Linked DNA regions of Homo sapiens: region 2 is linked to region 1. Evidence: promoter capture Hi-C in 16 types of primary human blood cells and fetal thymus (Javierre and others, 2016). All regions are on one chromosome and are shown on one strand. Each heading gives the region's core, a stretch centred on a gene start or on the middle of the fragment in contact. The rest is flanking DNA. Distances are from core to core; before and after follow the strand shown.

The links. Contacts are between HindIII fragments. The CHiCAGO score rates a contact against its expected background, and 5 or more counts as called.
Region 2: the fragment with the promoter of CFAP20 here is called in contact with the fragment with the promoter of SLC38A7 in region 1 in 6 of 17 cell types (total B cells, activated CD4 T cells, M0 macrophages and 3 more); the score reaches 7.0 in total B cells.

The regions. Positions count from the first base shown.
Region 1 is chr16:58,683,135-58,686,802 of GRCh38, reverse strand. SLC38A7 (solute carrier family 38 member 7) reads left to right here and starts at 2,033. Exons shown (of 12, transcript NM_018231.3): 1 at 2,033-2,086; 2 at 2,625-2,848. RefSeq lists enhancers at 2,247-2,306, 1,817-2,661. The HindIII fragment of the contact is 5,837 bases long and covers 1,976-3,668 here.
Region 2 is chr16:58,127,809-58,131,476 of GRCh38, reverse strand. It overlaps CFAP20 (cilia and flagella associated protein 20), which reads left to right and starts at 2,096. Exons shown (of 6, transcript NM_013242.3): 1 at 2,096-2,445. The coding sequence starts at 2,362. LOC101927556 (a long non-coding RNA gene) reads right to left here and starts at 2,593. Exons shown (of 4, transcript NR_188516.1): 1 at 1,814-2,593. RefSeq lists silencers at 1,072-1,309, 2,432-2,571 and enhancers at 990-1,910, 2,202-2,371, 1,911-2,832. The HindIII fragment of the contact is 18,688 bases long and covers 1-3,668 here.

The DNA.
Region 1 (3,668 bases), core at 784-3,283:
GGCGCATGCCACCACACCCAGCTAATTTGTTTTGTATTTTTAGTAGAGATGGGGTTTCACCATGTTGGTCAGGCTGGTCTTGAACTCCTGACCTCATGATCTACCTGCCTCGGCCTCCCAAAGTGCTGGAATTACAGGCGTGAGCCACCACACCCAGCCGCAGGATTAGTTCACTTATAAGAAGAAACAAGACCAGGCATGGTGGCTCATGCCTGTAATCCAAGCACTTGGGGAGACTGAGACAGGAGGTTCACTTGAGCCCAGGAGTTTGAGGCCATTCTGGGCAACATAGGAAGACCTTGTCTCTATAAAAAATGAAAAGTTAGCTAGGCATGATGGCACGCATGCCTGTAGTCTCAACTATTTGGGAGGCTGAAGCGGGAGGACTAGTGGAGCCTGGGAGATGGCGACTGCAGTGAGCTGTGATTGCGCCACTGCCCTCCAGCCTGGGCAACAGAGACCGTGTCTCTAAAAATAATAATAATAATAAAATAAATAAAAATAAGAGAGAGTTTACTTTCCCTCTCTGCTTTCCGCAATGTGAGGACACAGCAGGAAGATGGCCATCTGAAAACTATGAAGATGGTCCTCCCCAGAACTTGACTCTGCTGGCATTCTGACCTCAGTCTTGACAGCTTCCAGGACGGTGAAAAATAAATCTCTGTCGTTTAAACCACCCAGTCTATGATACTCTGTTATAGCGGCCTTAACTGATTAAGACAGTATGATTCTATTTTTTTTTTTTTTTTTGAGACAGAGTCTCACTCTGTCTCCCAGGCTGGAGTGCAGTGGCACGATCTCTGCTCACCGCCACCTCCGCCCCCCGGGTTCAAGTGATTCTCCTGCCTCAGGCTCCCGAGTAGCTGGGACTACTGGCGTGCACCACCATGCCCAGCTAATTTTTGTATTTTTAATAGAGACAGGACTTCGCCATGTTGGCCAGGCTGGTCTCGAACTCCTGACCTCAAGTGATCAGCCCGCCTTGGCCTCCCAAAGTGCTGGGATTACAGGTGTGAGCCACCGCACTCAACCAGTATGATTCAATTTATATAAACTTTTTGGAGGCCAGGCACGGTGGCTCATGCCTGTAATCCCAGCACTTTGGGAGGCTGAGGTGGGTGGATCACTTGAGGTCAGGAGTTTGAGACCAACCTGGCCAACATGGCGAAACCCCATCTCTACTAAAAATACAAAAATTAGCTGGGAGTGGTGGTGCATGCCTGTAATCCCAGGTACTCGGGAGGCTGAGGCAGGAGAATCACATGAACCCGGGAGGCAGAGGTTGCAGTGAGCAAAGATCGTGCCACTGCACCCCAGCCGGGGAGACAGAGTGAGACTCTGTCTCAAAAAAAAAAAAAAAAAAAAAAAAAAAAAAGGTGTGATTTGGGTTTCTAAGGATTCCCAGTGTGTCCTCATCGGTGAGGACCTCTGATGCATGGAGAGGTAAGTGCAGTGGAGAGCATATCCACAAAACAGAGATGAGGCTATTGGGATGCTGGAGATTACGTGACAATTTATGAGTGACACACAGCCAAGAACAGAACCAGGACTGGATGCCCATTTCGTCATTCAACAAATATTTACTGAGCACCTACAATCCCTCAAAAACTGTTCTAGAGTCTAAACCGATGGGGTCGTAACCATGCCCCCAGCCCACTCCCTTGCAGGAAAGACCGTGGCTCCAGGTCCCCCACATTACTGATTAAAAAAAAACTCCAGTGCTCTGGCCATGGGCGTGAAGGCAAGGACAGAGACCGGGAGGATAATGAGGCCAAACAGCTTTGGCCCACCGCCACCGGGACTGGCAAAGAGGCCAGACCTCCTAATGCTCTTCCTTGGAGGAAGGAGCAGTGTTTGATTTGGTCAAGAGGCCAAGACTAAAAGTAAGAGGATAAACACGAGCTGGCTGGACGCGAGGCTGGCTCAGGGCAGTGCTGTCGGGCTGAGGATTCAGGGAGCTGGTGTTGTCCAAGCTTCACATTTGCGGAAACTACAACTCCCAGCGTGTCCCGCGGCCGCCCGAGCGGGCGTCATGTGATGCATGCTCACGTGTCTCCGCAGCCGGCTCGGGAAAGAATCCCCCAAGGTAGGTGGCCGGAGACAGGCTCTGGAGGGTGGAAGTGTTAGATCCCCGAGGTCTGTGGAGCCCCTCAGTCCCCGCCACCGCGGAAAAGCTCAGACCCTTTCCCTGCAGGGGTCCAGATCCTGGCGTCCTCGCCCCACGCCCGTCCCTCTGTTGCGCCAGCTCTGCCGCGCCTTTACCCAGCCAGAGGGTCTCCACCCAGTCCTAGGCCGGGATCGGGTCCCGGAGCTCCTCCCCAGGTTACCCCACAGTAGCCCACCCTTCTCGCTCCAGGCCTGGGAATCGCCCCGCCCCGGCCTCCTGGCCCGGGTGCGCCCTGGCTCACCTCACAAAGCCTCACCTCACAAAGCAGCCCACCCTTTCTATCTCAGGGCTCCAACCCCAGGCTGGACTGGGAGCACACTCCAGTTGGGATCTGAGGGGCCTACATCGCTGGCCTGAGCATGTGGGCATCAGGCTTCTATTCTGGCTCTGCCAGCTACCCACTGTGACCTTAGTCTAACCTCTCCCTCCTGGGCCTGTTTTCCTATCTGTCCTGAAGCTCCATTTCATGAGTAAGCGTGAGAGCCGCTCAGTTTCCTCCAGCTCTGCTGAAGCCAGCACAGAAGTAGCCCAAACTCTTCCCTCTGCTGACAGCAAATTTTAGGCAAAGTCTTGAGAAAGAAGAAATTGGGTCCAGAAAGGGAAGTGAGGAGAATCAGATCCCAGACCTTTGGGGAGAAGGAGCAACCGCCTCTGGCACAGCCCATCAGGGAGAAAGAGCAGGTAAGGTGCAACAATGAGCTGAGTAATTTGCCAGTGAGCAGTGGGGGTGCCGAGAGGTCTTAACCAAGGCAGAGAATCTGCAAGAGGTGGGACCCCCAGCTTCTGAGTTCCACGAGGACCCCAGCCTGCACTCTCATGTGGGTGGCAGGAGAGGCTGGAGGATGGTGCAGGACTCGGGCAGGGGTGCCCAAGGGAAACATTTTGGTTGGAGAGTCAGGAAGCCGCACCAAGCCTTGTGACCTTGGACGAATCACTCTGTAGACCTCTGTCTCTGTGACGTGAGCAGCGGGGAGGAGATGGTCACAGCTCTGGCAGTGGTCACTTTGCAGGGTTCTTTCTCTAGCTACACTGGAAGCCTGGGAGTCCCAAGACTCTGCCTTCGCTGCTCACTGCTTTGATTTTGCTGAGTTGCTGGTTGGGTGACAGGATGTGTAAGAGGATGTGTAAGCCCTGTGACATCTGACAGATCTTTCTGGGTTTCGAGCCAGCAGAGGAATGTTTCCTCTGGTGCCATGTCCCTTGGTTCCATGCTTGATAACAGATGGCTGAGAGCACATGAACTTTCACCCTTTCCCTCTCATGAGTGGATGGTCCCCAGCTTTGTTTGTCCATCATCAGGAGGAGCAATGGGAAGTAGTCCAAGGGGTCTTGTTAGTCATTTTAAACCCCCAGTGGGCTGAAGGCATCAGAGAGGGTGGCCCAATGGTTAGGGCAGTCATTATGGCTGAATATGCTCAGTTCCCTTTTTTTCCCTCTGGGCTATAAAGACTAAACCAGGCTGGGGGCTGTGGCTCACGCCTGTAATCCCAGCACTTTGGGA
Region 2 (3,668 bases), core at 847-3,346, 560 kb after region 1:
AATAACTCTTCTACAGTCAATTCTTTCTTTAATATGTCTGCTTTTCTTAACTGGAATTTTTGCCTAAGATATTTTTAACAATTTAATAAAAATCAAAGGATACATTGTTCATCAGTCTAAGGTATAGCCTCTCCAGAAATCATCCAAAAATGACAGTTTCATATAAAAAGTTTTTGACTTTCTACAGTAATAAGATTCATATATTTTCTCACTATGTCCAGAAATTCTGGCTGGATTATTTAGGGGGCTGATGTGAGGACTGAATGAGTTAATACATGCTAAGGTGTTAATATATAGTGCCTGACACATAGTAAATGTTCAACTTACTGCTATAATGGACAAAAACTGCTAATAATGATGATATTAGCTACAGACTCCTTTTCTATCAGCCATACCACCCAGCACAGGCCTAGGCAAAAAATACAATATTTAGGTAGATGCTCAGTGACTATGTCAACATTTGAGATTTCCCTTTACACTCAAAATGTAGCTTACTTTATGTTTTCTAAAATATTCTAGGTATTAATTAATTTATTAATTTATTTATTTTGAGACGGAGTCTCACTGTCACCCAGGCTGGAGTGCAGTGGCGTGATCTCAGCTCACTGCCAGCTCTGCCTCATGGGTTCACGCCATTCTCCTGCCTCAGCCTCCCGAGTAGCTAGGACTACAGGTGCCCGCCACCACGCCCGGCTAATTTTTTGTATTTTTAGTAGAGACGGGGTTTCACCGTGTTAGCCAGAATGGTCTCGATCTCTTGACCTCGTGATCCACCTGCCTCAGCCTCCCAAAGTGCTGGGATTGCAGGCGTGAGCCACCGCGCCCAGCCGTATTAATTTTTATTTTTATTTTTCAGAGACTGTGTTGCCCAGGCTGGAGTGTAGACCAGCCTGAGTTTGAGACCAGCCTGAGCAACACAGTGCAACCCTGTCTCTACAAAAACAAAAAATTAACGCAGGCATGGTGGCCCACGCTTGTAGTCAGCTACTCTGGAGACTGGGTGGAAGGATAGGCTGAGCAGGGGAGGTCGAGGCTGCAGTGAGCCATGATCGCGCCACTGCACTCCAGCCTAGGTGACAGAGCGAGATCCTGTCTCAAAAATAAATAAACAAATAAATAATAAAATAAAAATCAGCTGTTGGTTCAACTCAACTTTCTTAATTTTGTTTATGAATGTCTGCCTTTATCTTAATGTTCAGGATTATTTATTTATTTGAGACCGGGTTTCGCTCTGTCGCCCAGGCTGGAGTGCAGTGGCGTGGTCTCGGCTCACTGCAGTCTCCTCCTCCCGGGCTCAAGGGATCATCCCACCTCAGCCCCCCAAGTAGCTGGGATTACAGGCGCGCGCCACCACGCCCGGCTGATTTTTGTATTTTTTTGTAGAGGAAGGGTCTCGCTTTTTTGCCCAGGCTGGTCTTGAACTCCTGGACTCAAGCGATCCGCCTGCCTCGGCCTCCCAAGGTGCTGGGATTTCGGCCGTGAGCCACCGCGCCCGGCCTAATCATGTTCGGGCTTTCTTATTTTCTAATCAATGTATTTAAGGCGATACATTTTCCTCAGAGTGTCGCTTTGACTGCATGCCACAATGTGAATAATGACAGGCAGGGATGTATATTAGGCGCTTATCACAGTTAGTGCTGAATATTGGTTAGTTCCCTTTAACCTTATCCTGTACTTGGCCGACAAGCATGTGTTGGGCGTCCGCCCGACGCCAAGAAGCTCTTTTTCAAAGCCGCTTTCCCTGCGCAGCCCCTGTTCTCCCGCGCGGGCAACTACTCCCGGCCTGGCCGTCACGCCCCCTCACGTCACTCACCGCCCCGCCACGTTCTCATGACACCACGCAGGTGCCAGCAACGAACTCCAGAACCCTCCGTGCCCTTCCGCTTTTCCAAAGGCATCTCTGGGACGACGGCAAGAAAAATAGTTCCTTGACAACTGAGCTCTTTTCAGGAGGAGGCGGGACCAGGCGGGACTTACAGGCGGAACGAAACGGAAGTCCGTGGTCCTTGTAACGGGATTGGGCCCCGCGCTCCCGGGGGGCGGGCTCAGATGGGCGGAGGGATTCATTTTAAGCAACGGGCGGCCCTCCGCCTCCATTGAAGGCGGGGAAATACCGCGGCGCGGACGGTAGTTGCTGTGGTTTCCGTTCTGAGCTCGCAGCTTAGGAGCTGAAGATCGCGGACTTAGCGTTGCCGCGTCCGAGTCCGGCCATCAGTGGCTGCAGATCCGGAGGCCAGGAGCTCAACCACCCTTCTTCGGAACAGGGCCGGCCTGCTGCTGTGCCCTCGACGCTCGGTGCCTGTATCTACTCCGGGGCCTAGGTCGGCTCCGGGGGCGGCTTAGGAGAAGGCCGCCGGCGAGATGTTCAAAAACACGTTCCAGAGCGGCTTCCTCTCCATCCTCTACAGCATCGGCAGCAAGCCTCTGCAAATCTGGGACAAAAAGGTCGGGCTAGGGGCGGCGACGGGGCGGGGTGGAGGGGCTGCACCCCCTCCTCGTCCGGGGGCTGGGGACGGGGAATGGTTGTGTCGAATTGGGGCCTGGGAGAGGCCGAGAGGACGCTGCTGTGCCTTGTCCCCAGCCTGGCGGGACTGGGGCGCGAGGTGGGGGCGTCGTGTAAGCAGCGGAGGAGGTGGGGGGGGGGCGGTGCATGTGGGTGGGCGTGGCTGAGATCTAAGTGTCCTGCAGCTGTGGTGTGGTTAGGACCGCGACCCTCGCTGCTGTCTTGACTTGGTCGGTCAGTCCATTCTTTTGAGCCACTGTTTCCCCACCAATATAATGGGGTTGATGGTGCCCATCTCGTAGCATGAAATGCACGAACTTATTTGAAGGAGCTTTGGGGATGTAAAGATGAAAGGACCTGCTATTCACGAATTCCAAATATTTACTGATATCCGTTTTTGTGCCAGGCACGGTGCTGGGCACTAGACACAGAGCCTTTGTTCAGGCACCCTTACAGAGGAGCAGACAGAAAGACTCCGGCCAAGCCAGTGATGTTTAAATTGCATTCATTTGCTCCCTTCCTCCCACTGATCCCAAATAAGTCAGAATTCAGTGGCCCTTGGCACCTGCTCCACACTCACTGTGACTTGCCTGTACTATGCCCTCGGTGCCTGATTTCTCCATCAGGAAAACTGCAGAATGCTGACAGTCAAAGTCTTGTTTGGATTAATAAACTCAGAGCCAAGTACAGGCCTCATCTTTATTCAGGCATCCACTAGATGATATGTGTTTGGCCCCACGAGATGATGAATCTGTTTTTTGCAGATGTGAAGAAAGATCTAGCTGTCTATGAATTGGTCTGCATTTTATTACTTTGGTATTTCGTTCTTCATGCAAATTCCCAGGCAATCAGCTGTACTATTTCTTGAATATAAGTTACGGGAGGCACTCCAATGTGAAATTTAAGTCATATTCTTAGTACTGCTCTCTGGGAGAATGGCGAGTGTGGGTATGCCGAATGCTGCTTTTTAGAGAGATGCATGTGGAATAATCTCAGTAGGATTTATTGGTAATGAAGCCAAGAATTTTGAATTTTATCTTGGAACACGTCTCTGTATTCCCTTATCCACACATGAGAGCTCTTTATGAGGGCCACATAAAGTTGGGAGAGAACATGAGCAGCTTTCTGCCTGTCACCACTAGGGAACTCTGCGTTCTGAGGGCAG